Linked DNA regions of Homo sapiens: all the other regions are linked to region 4. The links are contacts of gene promoters, found by promoter capture Hi-C in blood cells and fetal thymus (Javierre and others, 2016). All regions are on one chromosome and are shown on one strand. Each heading gives the region's core, a stretch centred on a gene start or on the middle of the fragment in contact. The rest is flanking DNA. Distances are from core to core; before and after follow the strand shown. Region 1 overlaps DDX10 (DEAD-box helicase 10). Region 2 has its middle 20 kb from the start of DDX10. Region 3 overlaps DDX10 (DEAD-box helicase 10). Region 4 holds the start of CUL5 (cullin 5). Region 5 has its middle 16 kb from the start of EXPH5.

Evidence for each region. The method cuts DNA at HindIII sites, captures the fragments that hold promoters and counts their contacts. A CHiCAGO score of 5 or more calls a contact.
Region 1: a contact is called between a fragment that was not itself captured here and the fragment with the promoter of CUL5 in region 4, in 1 of 17 cell types (total CD4 T cells). The highest score is 5.2, in total CD4 T cells.
Region 2: a contact is called between a fragment that was not itself captured here and the fragment with the promoter of CUL5 in region 4, in 3 of 17 cell types (fetal thymus, naive CD4 T cells and naive CD8 T cells). The highest score is 6.2, in fetal thymus.
Region 3: a fragment that was not itself captured here is called in contact with the fragment with the promoter of CUL5 in region 4 in 1 of 17 cell types (total CD8 T cells); the score reaches 5.7 in total CD8 T cells.
Region 5: a contact is called between a fragment that was not itself captured here and the fragment with the promoter of CUL5 in region 4, in 1 of 17 cell types (naive CD4 T cells). The highest score is 5.5, in naive CD4 T cells.

The regions. Positions count from the first base shown.
Region 1 is chr11:108,689,443-108,692,302 of GRCh38, reverse strand. It overlaps DDX10 (DEAD-box helicase 10), which reads right to left. Exons shown (of 18, transcript NM_004398.4): 8 at 265-427. It also overlaps the pseudogene RPS2P39. Among named protein-coding and RNA genes, the nearest start is that of DDX10, 26 kb to the right of the region's middle. The HindIII fragment of the contact is 1,540 bases long and covers 662-2,201 here.
Region 2 is chr11:108,644,168-108,646,867 of GRCh38, reverse strand. No RefSeq gene overlaps it. Among named protein-coding and RNA genes, the nearest start is that of DDX10, 20 kb to the left of the region's middle. The HindIII fragment of the contact is 8,630 bases long and covers 1-2,700 here.
Region 3 is chr11:108,732,181-108,734,880 of GRCh38, reverse strand. All of the region lies in intron 13 of DDX10 (DEAD-box helicase 10), which reads right to left. All of the region lies in intron 2 of LOC124902750 (a long non-coding RNA gene), which reads left to right. Among named protein-coding and RNA genes, the nearest start is that of DDX10, 68 kb to the right of the region's middle. RefSeq lists an enhancer at 990-1,109. The HindIII fragment of the contact is 570 bases long and covers 1,115-1,684 here.
Region 4 is chr11:108,007,548-108,010,256 of GRCh38, reverse strand. CUL5 (cullin 5) reads right to left here and starts at 1,359. Exons shown (of 19, transcript NM_003478.6): 1 at 885-1,359. The coding sequence starts at 908. RefSeq lists enhancers at 845-1,034, 1,135-1,234. The HindIII fragment of the contact is 8,314 bases long and covers 1-2,709 here.
Region 5 is chr11:108,608,192-108,611,077 of GRCh38, reverse strand. No RefSeq gene overlaps it. Among named protein-coding and RNA genes, the nearest start is that of EXPH5, 16 kb to the right of the region's middle. The HindIII fragment of the contact is 5,891 bases long and covers 1-2,886 here.

The DNA.
Region 1 (2,860 bases), core at 182-2,681, 680 kb before region 4:
TTAACCCCCTTTGATTTTGTAGGTTCCTCAGGATTCTATGGTGTGATTATCATGAAATAGTAAAAAAGATGCAAATACTGTGGAAATTTTCACTGATACATCCTTAATGTTAGTCAACTGCTACCAATTTACTACTTACTTTTCTCTTACAAAATAAGAAAAGAAACCCAAGTGTTTGAGTCTATCAGATTTCCCAAAATATACTTTATAAGCAAATTACATTTCACACAATCACAGAAATTTCATGATAGGAAGTTTTCTTACCCAGACCCCTGGCTGCAATATCAGTAGCAAAGAGTACTGCAGCTCTCTTACGGACAAACTCATTATAGACTTCCATTCTTCTCATTTGCTGCTGTCGACCATGGAGTGCAAGGATAGAAACACCAGGACGTAGCCGGCAAAACACTCGGTACAGATACTGGACCTGGGGCATCAACAGAAGAATAAGTTTGCTTATGGCAGATGGCAGCAATAAAGCTTTTCTCTTATCAACGTATCCCACAGAGTCTCAACAGCAGAGCAATGTGATACCCAATTCCAACCAAGTAAAAAAAGTAAAGAAACTCTTATTTAATCACAAGCAATTTAATTTCCTTCCCTCCTTTAATTCACATTTCTATTTCCTAACGTCACAGAATTGCATCTTAAGTTTGAAGCTTGAAAGCCTTTTATTGATGTTATCATAACTCATTTTCTACAAAAGAAAAAACTTATTTTAATTTCCTGTGGCCATAGGCTGACTGAACTTTCCTCTCAGACTCAGCAATTATTAAAATAATTAGTAATACAGAACTGATCAAACCAAGAAATATGTTGGGATTTGATTTAAAAAACTGTTAGACATAAATAAAAACATTGTAAATATATCTCAATGTGTGGGACTATATAGAGCTAATTGTTCTGGTTCTCTTTTTGTACCCATAAATGGATACTATGGATTACTAGACTGAAAAGAGTTCAGCATTATTTTATTTTCTCTAATATGGGGGTTAAAATCTGTTCACATAAATAAAACAAACTCAAAGGAAGTTTAATTCTGAGCTCCTATAAAATAGGCCAAAAGTCATAATGGATTATTCCAAATAATTTTTGGTGATCCAGTCGCTCAATTAAAGAGAAAGACCCCATTAAAGTCTCTCTTCAATTTTGCTGACAGTAAAGAATGGGAAACCAAGTGAATTGCTTGTTACCCAATCACTAGCCATTCACTTTCTCAAATGCAATTTGCTACTGCCAGGGAGGTTCTGATTCTGGGACAATATATCAGGCAAGTATCAGAGATAGCTGGACTTAGGCCTTTCTTTCGTAAAGATGTAAAAACAGCTTCTCCAAGAAAACATCAAATGGCAGATGATGCTGGTGCAGCGGAAGGGTCCACGGGACAAGGAATTGGAAACCACAGAGGCTTCGATGGAGGCTTCAGCAATAGCACCTGCAACCAAGGCCACTGAGGCAAAGCCAAGGGGTGGATGCCAGTCACAAAGCTGTGCTGCTTGGTGAAGGACATGAAGACCAAGTCCCTGGAGGAGATCTATCTCTTCTCCTGCCCATCAAGGAGTCTGAGGTCCTTGACATTTTCCTGGGGGCATCTCTCAAGAATGAGGTTTCAAAGATTACATGGCGCAAAAGTGGCCCACACTGGCCAACGCACTGGATTCAAGGCATGTTGCCACTGGGGACTACAATGGCCACACTGATACGGGTATCAGGTGCTCCAAGGAGGTAGCCACTGCCATTTGAGGAGCCATTATCCTGGCCAAGCTCTCCATTGTCCTTGTGCCAAGAGGCTACTTGGGGAACAAGATCGGCAAGCTCACCAGCCCTTGCAGGGTGACAGACCCTCTCTGTGCTGGTGAGACTTATCCCCACCTCAGGAGGCACTGGTATCATCTCAGCCCCATGCCCAAGAAGCTGCTGCTGATGGTGGGTATTGACAATTGCTATACCTCGACCAAGAGGCTGCATTGCCACCCTGGGCAACTATGCCAAGGCCACCTTTGATGCCATCTCCTACTCTAAAGAGTAGAAACTTTAAACAGAACTTTAAATAGAACTTTCAGAATCATTTCCTAGCACCTAGATGCCAAAACCAACTAACTCTTCTTTAGGAGATGTGAAGTTTATTGTTTTGTTGTTGGCTACTGCTCAGGATACACTTCCAAGTTGCCTTGAGGAATGCTCCCAGGAGACTGGAAGCTTTGAAAATCTAAAATCGGTCCTTGAAAAACTGAAGTCTTTTTTTTTTTTTTAAAGACAGGGTGTCGCCATCTTGCCCAAGCTGGTCTTAAACTTCTAGACTCAAGCAATCCTCCTACCTCAGCCTCTTAAAGTGCTGGGATTACAGGCGTGAGCCACCGCACCAAGGCTGAAGTCATTCTTTACATGGTAAAATAAGGTTCAGTAGACAACAGCATCAGATCACCACTTAACTTCCCATAAGCTAGAGAGAAACCCATCTACATATTTATCATGGAAAGTTATTGCAAAAGCTGTAAATCTAGAATTGATCTACTACATTCCCTATTAAGTCATTGGGAATCTGAAATATAGTACAGGAGAAGAGGCACACGCACGCACACATGCACAAAGACCGTAGTCCCTTCTCCTTAAGAGAGGAGACAAAGTTCTCTTAGACATCTCTGAAATCCTTATTCTTTATTCCTAGCACAGGGCTAGTGTTCAAGAAGTGTTTATTAACTAAGATATAAACAAAACACTTCAGAAGGTTAGGGGAGGGAACAACTGATTCTTTAAAAAGGGAGTGTCAGAAAGGGACTTTCAGGCATAACATTTGAACTTAGCCTCAAAGTAAGTATTTCCCCAGATTTAGATGAAGAGATGCAGGGAGGGCATTCCA
Region 2 (2,700 bases), core at 69-2,568, 640 kb before region 4:
AACCACTATCTCCCATGCTGATCTGGAAACAGAAAATGGCTTCAAAATTCTATCAGCAAGAACAATCTAGTGTGTAATAACAAATATTCAGTACATAGCAGAAGATACAGTTAATTGCTATCACATTTTTGTTTGTGTTGGTTGGTTGGTTGGCTGGTTGGTTGGTTGGTTTTAGAGACAGGGTCTCACTCTGTCATCCAGGCTAGAGAACAATGGCATGATCATAGCTTACTGTAGCCTTGAACTCCTGGGCTCAAGCAATCCTCCCATCTCAGCCTCCCAAGTAGCTGGGACTATAGGTGCATGCCACTACAACCAGCTCATTTTTAAATTTATTTTTGTAGAGTCGGGGTCTTGCTATGTTGCTCAGGCTGGTCTCAAACTCCTGGCTTCAAGCAGTCTTCCCACCTCGGCCTCCCAGAGTACTGGGATTATAGGCATGAGCTACTGTGCCCAGCTGTTAATGCTATATTTGAAATTCTACTTGTACTTCTTATTATGTTCAAATTATATCCTGAATTTAATAATTTAAAGTAAATAGAATCCTTGTAGTCATCAAGGAAAGCAAGGCAGTAACAGAGGAGAAAATGATTTCTGAAAGCAGGTGGTTTTCTAAATATGCAGATATTTATCACTGCAGGCCATAACACAGCTATGCATATTTTATTATTAACGAAGTATGCAGTGTATGCCTATAAATATTTGCCTGGGATTTTCCAAGCATCTTGTTCATGATACCATTTGGGTGATTATGGTCGTCTTTAACATGTAGACACAAGCATCAACATACCCCTTAGGTATTTATATGACAGGTTATAATTTAACAGATTTTTCCATTTTCTGCCTACTTGATTCTGTACTAGGTTCTGCCCTCATATTCTTCTATCTAAATCTGAGCCATCACCTAAAACACACTGCAAGTGTTTCCTCCATCGAGCTCATAGCAATTCTTTCTGCATAGAGTTCTCATGCTGTTTGGCATTGTTATGGGATTCTTCCCGTGCTTTTTCTTTCTAGAGAGATCATCCCTCCCCTCTGTGGAACATAAGGAGTGGAGGAAAAGCCAAGTCCCCTGGCACTCTTCAGTTTAATAATTACAGCTTTGGCCATCCATGAGTGTAACTACCTCCCTCCAAGAAATAAGTCAGACTCTATCGGGACAGCCTTGGGTCCAACTGCAAGAAGTCACTGTTGAAGACATTATGCTATGTGAAAAAAAAGCCAGTCATAAAAGACCACAAAGTGTATGATTCCATTCATATGAAATAACCAGAATATCCAAATGTATAGAAACAGAAGGTGGATGAGTGGTTGCCTAGGGCAGTGGGAGAGGGTAGGGAGGCAGTGGGGAAAATGGAGAATGACTACTAATGGGCATGACATTTCTTTTGAGGATGAAAATGTCCTAAAACCATGGTGATGGTTCCATAGCTTTCTTTCTTTTTTAATATTTTATTATTATTATTTTGCATAGCTTTTAAAATATACTAAAAACCATTGAATTGTACTGGCTTTTGTTTGTTTGTTTGTTTTTGTTTTTGTTTTTGTTTTTTTGAGATAGGTTTCACTTTGTTGCCCAGGCTGGAGTGCAGTGGCATGAACATGGCTCACTGCAGCCTCAACCGCCTGGGCTCAAGTTATCCTCCTGCCTCAGCCTCCCAAGTTCCTAGGACTATAAGTGTGTGCCACCATGCCTAGATAATTTATAAATTTTCTCTAGAGACTGGGTTTTGCCATATTGCCCAGGCTGGTCTCGAACTCTTGAGCTCAAGACACCTGCCCACCTCAGCCTCGCAAAGTGTTGGGATTACAGGTGTGAGCCACAGTGCCTGGCCAAACTGTACATTTTAAATGTGTAAATTGTTTGGTATGTGAATTATATCTCAATAAAGCTGTTAAAAAAGAAACCATTGTCCCTACATCAGCCACTACCCTCAGAGTCACCCTATGTGTATGTGTACTACAAATCTCTGTAATTATCAAGCTGTCCTCACAGGGTTAACAAGAATTCTGGACAGAAATATAGTTATAATTAAGCAGCTATAGTTAATCAGGCTGCGCTTTGCCCTCTTCCTTGTAACTGAAAGTAACATTAGATACTGACCATTTGCATTCCCACTGTTCCTACAGTTAGGATCTCTGATGTTAGAATCATATGGCTTTTGCTTATGAATTGCTTAAGGTGTTTTTTAGATCCCAAATCCCAGGGAAACAGCTGATGCCAACCAGTTTAAAGACCCCCACAGAGGAACCAAATCAGCATGAGAAAACAGTTTCCTTATCTCCCTGTCCCTTGACTTCACTCTGCACTTTTCAACTGATCAACAATCTCCATGCTTTGGCCCACTCCAAAACCCTTAAAAACTCTATCCCCAAACTCCTCAGGGAGACAGATTTGAGGTTTCTCCCATTTCCTCTTCAAAGGCCCTATGATTACACCTCTTTCTCTGCTGCAACCTGGTATCTTGGTGCCAGTAGGTAAAGGACCCTGTAGGTAAAGGACCCTGTAGGTAAAGGACCTACAGTTATAATCAGATACAATGACATCTTGTCCTTTGAATTTTCTCGTGGGACCTCTGGTGGGCTATTCATCTTATGCTTTGAAAAAACCTCTGAAATGGGTCATGGCCATACTATGTCTTAGGCAAAATATTGCTCCCTGATCTTTTTCCTACCACCTCACCTAGAGTTTGGACTTTG
Region 3 (2,700 bases), core at 150-2,649, 720 kb before region 4:
TAGAGCCATATAAACAAGCACTTGTTTATGAATTTGAAAACTCCTTATTTCTAATCATATAACAAGTTCAAAGGGCAATTCACATGACCTTCAAGAACAGCCTGTCCTATTTCACATTTCTTTCATTACCTGTGTAACTACCTTAAAATAAAGATAAATACGGCCTGTAAAAGTAGCTGTTTAAACTTCAACCACAAAAGTAGATTTAAAAATTCAGTAGTTAGCAGATGTTATAAATATTGAATATTGTATAAAAGAAGGAGATAAAGGAAAACGACTCAATATTTGATATAATGATTCAGCATGTTACAGAATAAACATCATGCCAAAACCAGCTTTAAGCTTTCCACTGAAAATTTACATCCTCAGGAAGTCATCTGCATACCAAACTCAAATAGGAAAAAAAATACATAAAGCAACTCAATATATGCATCTAAGCTTCATGTTACACAATAACAACTCCTTTTGAATTGGAACAAAGCTTAGATTACAAAAAAAGAATTAAGCACAGGATGCCAAAAAACAGAAAAGACACCTATAAGACAAATGAGCATATATACCAAACTATTTCAGCTGGCAACATCTGAGATCATGCTACCATTGTTTCACTTCATGGTAGCAAAAATTCGGAGTACAGTAGTCTTGACTTTAGAGTTCTTCCTTCTGTTTAAGTCAACTGAACATTACATAAGGCCCCTGAACACAAATCACCAGGTATGGAAGAGATAAAAATTAAGAGACATGTGGCTACATTATGAAATGTCAAGAAAAAGAAAAAAATACTAGCAAAATAGACCATTGGAATCCAGAGGTCAGTGGGTTGAAGAAGTAAGGGATGGCTTCAAAGAAGAGACAAGATAAGCACTGCATCTTGAAAGATGTGAAATGCTGGAGTGGGAAGAAAATAATCCAGGAAGGAATCCTTCACTGTTTAAGTGGAAACTGGGAAGAATGGTCTCGCAGGACAATAGGATAGGGGCTAGCTTACAAAACCCAACTGCAAGGGTGAACTTAAGGGTAGCATGGAAGGTAAACCACTTGAAAAAAAATACTAATTTGACCAAGGTTCACAGGAAGATGACTCAGAAGAACAACGAGAACCAATTATGAAGCTTATCCCCCCGAGCCAAGAATGAGGTAATAAGAATCTGGGGGCAGAATGGCAGTGTAAGTGGGAAGTGAAAATGGAACACTAAAAGCCACCACTAAATGTAGAAATGACGGGAATCAAAGCAAGCACAATCATACCGAGGCAAGTCAGAGGGGCCTAAGTACAGACTCCAGTGCTAGCGCTTCACTAACTATGCAACATTAGGCAAGGAAGTAAGTGAACCTGTCAAAGCCTGTGTCTGAACTTGTAACATGACAACAACACTACACAAGGCTGTGGTAAGAATTTAAATAAGTGAGATATGATAGTCAAAGTGCATGGTAAGTTATAAAAAAATTGATAGATGTTAATCATTTTCCAGTACTTATTTTACAAATACTTAGTCCAAGTTCCTAAAAGTCACTAAGTACCTAACACAGTCCCTGGCATCCGTTAGGTAACTGCTGCTGAAAGGAGGGAAAAAGAGAGAAAGAGAAAAAGTGAAGAGACAAGAGGCAGAAACATCCTAGCTCCCACATAGGAGAATCTTGATTTGGAACTTGGAATCTTTTTATAAGAGTATACTTATAAGCTTCAAAGTTAGCTAATCTGTGTTTTAACACCAACAGTGAGTTCTTACAGTACTAAAAAAAGAAAAAGCTACTAAAAAAAAAAAAAAAAGTAGGACTAAATCAATGTAAACAGGATCTGGAATCAACTCTAAGGTACAATGAATAATCTATGGGTATCATTCAAATCTTAATTAAAACTGACCTATGTTTACTTTTAAGAAAGCTTTAAAAGGACATTTGTTGAGCTAAAATGGAATCTACCCAGTCTCATTTCTAAAAAGGTTTAAACTGAAAAAGAAAAGAAAGCATATGCTTAGAGATTTCATTCTCACATTTAAGGAAATAAGTGTTCCAAAAATAAATTTTAATTTAATCATTTTAATTGTATGTTCATGCTCTTATCTAACACTGTCTCCCTGGAGGTCAACTTTCTGAACACCCAACAAGACAATTAGCCAAAACAAGGTTCTTCCCTATGGTGGGAGGTCAACCAGCCATCTCTTACTGCCTTTGTGCCTGATCACTACACCTGCGCTCTCTCCTGCACATGTCTTATTGCTTCATCACTCGTGGCACTTCTCCACTGCTAAGAAAATCTTGTTGTCCTTCACTGCATCGATCTCGTCAAACAGAAAAGGATTGTGACAAGGCAGCATTCCAGAAGGCCTTGCTTGCACCTGGCACTCAGTACCTCTCGTCTCCATTTACGCCGAAGTCTAAAGGCAAACATTCATTTTATACTCCAAGTGTGCGCACACAATGAGTAGCCCAAAATTATTTACAATACTGTCAATTACACTGACATTACCCAATTACAGAAAGCAAACTACACACAAATAATGGTAGGCACGACAGCAGAGAAAGAAAATGTGACTTAGCATCACAAATAGGTTTAACTGCTAACTTCACCACTGTGACCTTGGACAAGTCACTTAAAAGCCTTCCTTTCCTCCTCCGAAATTTTAATAGCTACCTTTCTTGTCATAAGGAAAAATGAGAACTTATGCAGAAAGTGTTCAGTATATGGTAAAATGCCAA
Region 4 (2,709 bases), core at 110-2,609:
TTTTTGCCATTAATATTATGTTCCCTGAGCTATTCACTACCCCCATTTCTGTCCGTACTTTTAAGGCAAATGATTAACTACTACAGACACATACACAGAACAGACTAGTTCTAAGTCTTCCTCATTCTTCTCCAAACTTTTTAACTGGTGGAGAATCTGCCCCTGTGGGCCTAGATCTCCCTTGCTATATAAAACTAACTTTAAATACTGTCTTTGACAAGGTAACTTTCCTGCGCCCTAAAACGATGGTATCGCTTCATCAGTTGTCATCTGGTTGTGTCCTGTAACTGGGTGGGGGTTAGAAAGCAGTTTCCTAAGGAAAAAGATGAACTCAAGAATGGGAGAATTAGGAGGGAAGGTGTAACACGCAGAAAAGGGAGGAAGGGGGGTGGAGTGGGAGGCACTGCTGGTCTGACTCGGAATTTCGTGCAGACAGAACGAGAACAGAAATGGAAGAAGTGGGGGGTCGAGTCACTGAAACCTGTTAGGCAGCATTTTCTTGGTTTTTCCTTTGATGCGTCTTAGACATTGCTTTACAAGAAACTGAGACCTAACAGTACTAACGGCCCAGCTGGTCAGGACACCGCACGACCATTCATCTCCCGCTCCCGGCCAGAGCTGGTCCCTTGAAAGCATCGCTCCTCGCCAGCGCTCAGCCAGGCTTTTCTCCCAGCGGCCAGTCGGCGGGAGCGACCACCAGAGCCTGTCGACCCCAAGGCCACAGACCCGCGTTCCGGTACTCGCCGGCTGCCACCGCGGCTTCCCTGCCAGTGGACAACCCCTGAACACTCCCACACTTCGCAGCTGAACCTGAGCCGTGCCTTTCCCAAAGAGCCGAACCCGGCGGCCACACAGTAAAACCCAAGCTGGAGTGAGGGTCTTACCTTTAACAGATTAGACGTCGCCATGTTCTTTAACTTGGACTCTCGCGAGACGACGCGAGAATTCGTGGCGCTCCCGGCCAGGCCTTGACCGGAGGCCGGAGCTCCCACCAGGGCCCAGGGCCCGTCGGCCCGCACCAGGGTGTGGTGGGCGCTGGAGCAGCGCGCCGACAGCGCTGACCTCGTCCCAAGCACCAGGAGCTTCCTCACTCTTCTCCCCTACATGGTCACCGGAGCTTCCCCACGCGAAAGACCTCATGCACGCGCTCAGGAAGACCGGAACGGCGAATGCTGAGAAGGTAACGGGAGCCGACCTGACTTGGAAGAGGAAGCATCGACTCCACGAGCCTCCCCGACTCCTTCGGATTAGCCTTTGTGGTTGCACCCGCCGCGGCCACCTGCAACGAATTTAGCTCGGCTTAGGCCCCGCAGCTCAGGTTCCGCGGCCACGTCACGTGACGCGAGGGCGGGGACGCGCTCGGGAGCGAGCGTGGGAGCCTGGAAGCCTCGGTGGGTCCCGAGGCTGCAGCGAGGCCGGGACCGTGCCCTCTGCTGGCGGGACCTGGCGTTTTCCGGCACCCCGCCCCAAATCCCGGACTCGGTGTTAAGGGAGGTGCATTGTCCTGAAATGCTTACAACAGCTGTCTTCAATAACTCGTGCATAGAATGCGCCCAGTAAATATGTGTTGACTGCACAAGCGTGATGACTCTTAATATTTCTATTCAGGAATGCTTGGCACTTAGATAAAATATTGTTCAGTGCTTTGGGAGGCCGAAGGGGGAGGATCACTTGAGGCCAGTTCAACACCCTCGTCATTACAAAAAAGTTTGAAAAAAAAAAAAAAAGATTGTTTAGAGAATGAATATTAATCTTCGATTTTCTGAAGGCACATTATCCTAGAAGATCCTAAACCATAAGCCTCCGGGTTTTACCCCTTCAGACCACACACCACTGGCCAATGAGATAATATAATTTACATGTGGAACCTGCAGGATACCTGGTATTGTATTTTGCAGGTTTACAAACAGCCTTCATACGGCCATAATGCGTAGAAATAAGTAAGAGCTCTGGACTAAGAGAAGAGGGATGGGCCTACTTAAAGAATCCAATCAAGTAGTTAATACTTGTTTGAGCACTTGTATATACTAGGCACAGGAAATACAGGATTAAATAAAAGAGAAGACCCCTGCTCGTTTGGAGTTTATGGCCTAATAAGGTAGCCAAATGTTAAGGATGGCTACACAAGTCAAATATTACTTAGTGGGAGTTGTGATAAATATTGCAAAGAGGCCGGGCGCAGTGGCTCACGCCTATAATCCCTATAGGGCCCCGTGGCTCACGCCTATAATCGGCACTTTGGGAGGCCGAGACACCTGCGGTCAGGAGTCCGCGACCAGCCTGGCCAACATGGTGAACCCCTGTCTCTACTAAAAATACACAAATTAGCCGGGCATGGTGGCGGGCACCTGTAATCCCAGCTACTCGGGAGGCTGAAGCAGGAGAATCGCTTGAACCCTGAAGGTGGAGATTGCAGTGAGCCGAGATCGCGCTATTGCACTCCAGCCTGGACGACAGAGCGAGACTCTTGTCTCAAAAAAAAAACAAAAAAAACAAAAAAAAACTACAAACAAAAAAATACAGTGTGCACTTGAGAGCGTAGGAAGGGAAAGGAAACTAGTATCCTAATCTCCATCTACCCAAGCCACCCTTTGCTTATGCTTAACTGAACCTTAAGACAACTTTTGAGAGCTTGATTTCAGCGTCCTACTGTCAACCGAAGCATTCCAATTTTCCTAACTCACTTGTTCTGGAAACACCACTGCTACA
Region 5 (2,886 bases), core at 227-2,726, 600 kb before region 4:
AATAAATTGTAGCTATTATATTACAGGAAAGTGGGAGAATGCAGCACTTTTGATCTGTGACTCCTCACCATATTCCTGGGATGGACATAAATACTGAATTAAATTATTCAAAATCCTGGGTAGTCTACTGTCCTATTTGAGGCTTGACATTTTGCACATGATGGATTTTTCAAGTCTGAAGCAAACATTGTCAAATAGAATATTCATTTTAGTTTCTTATCCCCTCCCTCCAAAGAAAAAAAAATGAAACAAAATTTTGTGGCTATTGTGGTAATCCATGTCTTATAAAAGCATGGCATGATCACCAGAGTATGACACTCTTTTCCTTTCTTGCCCTCCAATTCTGCACTCTCCTGGGTACTTCCTGTCTACCACCACCATAGGGTCTGCAGATCCATTCCAAATAGCTTCATTTAGGAAGCCAAGTCAGGCAAATGTTTGGCAGAGAAGTATATCAATAAAAATATCAATATCACTTTCAAAGGTAAATAAAAAATAGCTATAAGAATTACTTGGAATTTTATTATTTTACTCAGTTCTTCAATAAGAGGTCTGAAAATCAGCTTATCTAAAAAAGGGGCCATGGTGGCTCATCTCTCTAATCCTAGCACTTTGTGAGGCCAAGGACGGATTGCTTGAGTCCACGAGTTCAAGACCAGCCTAGACAACATGGCAAAGCACTCTCTCTACAAAAAAAAAAAAAAATACAAAAATACAAAAATTAGCTGGGCATGGTGGCGCATGCCTGCCTGTAGTTCCAGGGGGGCCGAGGTGGGAGAATTGCTTGAGCCCAGGAGATTGAGGCTGCAGTGAGCCTTGATTGTGCCACTGCACTCCAGCCTGGGTGACAGAGCAAGACCCTGTCTCAAAAATCAATTAATTAATTAATTTAAAAAATTAAAAAGGAAGAAAATGGAGAGAAATAACATCCGAGCTTTTCTGCAGGGGAGCAACAGTGCAAGGCTGAGCCTCTTTTATAGCCTAGCTGCTCATGAGCCCACATACAATAGGCCCCCTTTATCTAAGACTGCACTTTTTGCAATTGCGGTCCGAAAATATTAAATGGAAACTTCGAGAAATAAACAATTCATAAGTGTTAAATTGCACACTTTTCTGAGTAGTGTGATGAAATCTCACACCATCCTGCTCCATCCCACACAGGATATGGATCCTCCCTTTGTCCAGTGTATCCATGCTGTCTACATTCCCTGCACCTTAGTCACTTAGCAGCTGTCTTGATTATCAGATTGACGGTTGAGGTCTCACAGTGCTCGTGTTCAAGTCACCCTTGTTTTATTTCATAATGGCCCCAAAGCACAACAGTAGTGATGCTGGAAATTCAGTCATGCCAAAGAGAAGTTGTAAAGTGCTTCCTTTAAGTGAAAGGGTGAGAGTTCTCAACTTAATAAGGAAAGAAAAAAATTCATACAATGAGGGGGTTTGCTAAGATCAACTATATAAACAAATCTTCTATCAGTGAAATTTTGAAGGAGAAAAAAGAAATGTGTGCTAGTCTTGCTTTTACACCTCAGACTGCAAAAGTTATGGCCACGGCGCATAATAAATGCTGAATTAAGATGGAAAAGGCATTACATTTGTGGGTGGAAGACATAAACAGAAACATGTTCCAGTTGATAGCAAAGGGAGTGGGATGGGAGGTAGGGAATGACCAGGGTCACACATCAGGCTGATCAGGCAGAACAATATCAAATAGAAGAAAGCTGCTCAACCTTGCAGTATTGACCTTTTGCACTGAATGATTCCTTATCTTCAGGGGTCATCCTGAGCATTGAAGGAGGTTTAGTAGGATCTCTGTTTTCTAAGAACTAGATGCCAGTAGCTACCCACCCCCTCTACCGCCAATCCCTCCCCAACCCATCCCTGGAGCTGTGACAATCAAAAATGTCTAGGGAATGGCCAATTGTCCCCACTGGGGTGGGTGTGAAGAGAAATTGCCCCTGCTTAAGAATCACATACATAGGATAATATCAGCAAAGATCATGTATCACTGTGAGATACCAAGATCCCAAAAGGAGTTTGAGTATAGAGGACTAATTCAGGCAGGAATAATTCTCAAGGACAATGGTTGCTGGAATCAGCCTTCAGCCCTGGACTTGCTCCCTCTCCTTTCTTTCTCTTCTCTTTCCCCTCCTCTTTCCTCTCTTCCTCCTCCCTCTCCTTTTCCTCCTTTTCTCCTCCCCCTTCTCTGATCCCCTCCCCCTCTCTCTCACACAGAGAATTTGACTTTGTCTTTTGTTTTGTTTTGTTTTGTTGAGACAGGATCTTTCTCTGTCACCCAGGCATGATCATGGCTCACTGTAACCTCCAATTCCTGGGCTCATGCGATCCTCCTGCCTCAGCCTCCCAGGTAGCTGGGTTTACAGGTGTGAGCCCCTGCACCAGGCCAGAGGATGTGACTTTGGCTTGCAGAGAGCAGCTCTCTAAGACAGAAGTCTTTGCAATCTCTGCTTGAGCAATTTTCTATACCACCAAATAGGTATTAGCCCAATTCTCTTAGCTTCTGGGAAGGAGCTGCAGAGAAGCATGGAAAACTTCCTTTCTCCTATACTCAGCAAATACACATTCAACAACACATAGAGGAACATTTAGGGAAAGCTAAGTTTAATAGCTGTGGGCTGGGCGTGGTGGCTCATGCCTGTAATCCCAGCACTTTGGAAGGCCGAGGCAGGCAGATTGCTTGAGCCCGGGAGTTCAAGACCAGCCTGGGTAACATGGTGAAATCCCATCTCTACTAAAAATACAAAAATTAGCCCGGTGTGGTGGCACATGCCTGTAATCCCAGCTACTGGGGAGGCTGAGGCAGGAGAATTGCTTGAACCAGGGAGGCAGAGGTTGCAGTGAGCTGAGATCACACCACTGCACTCC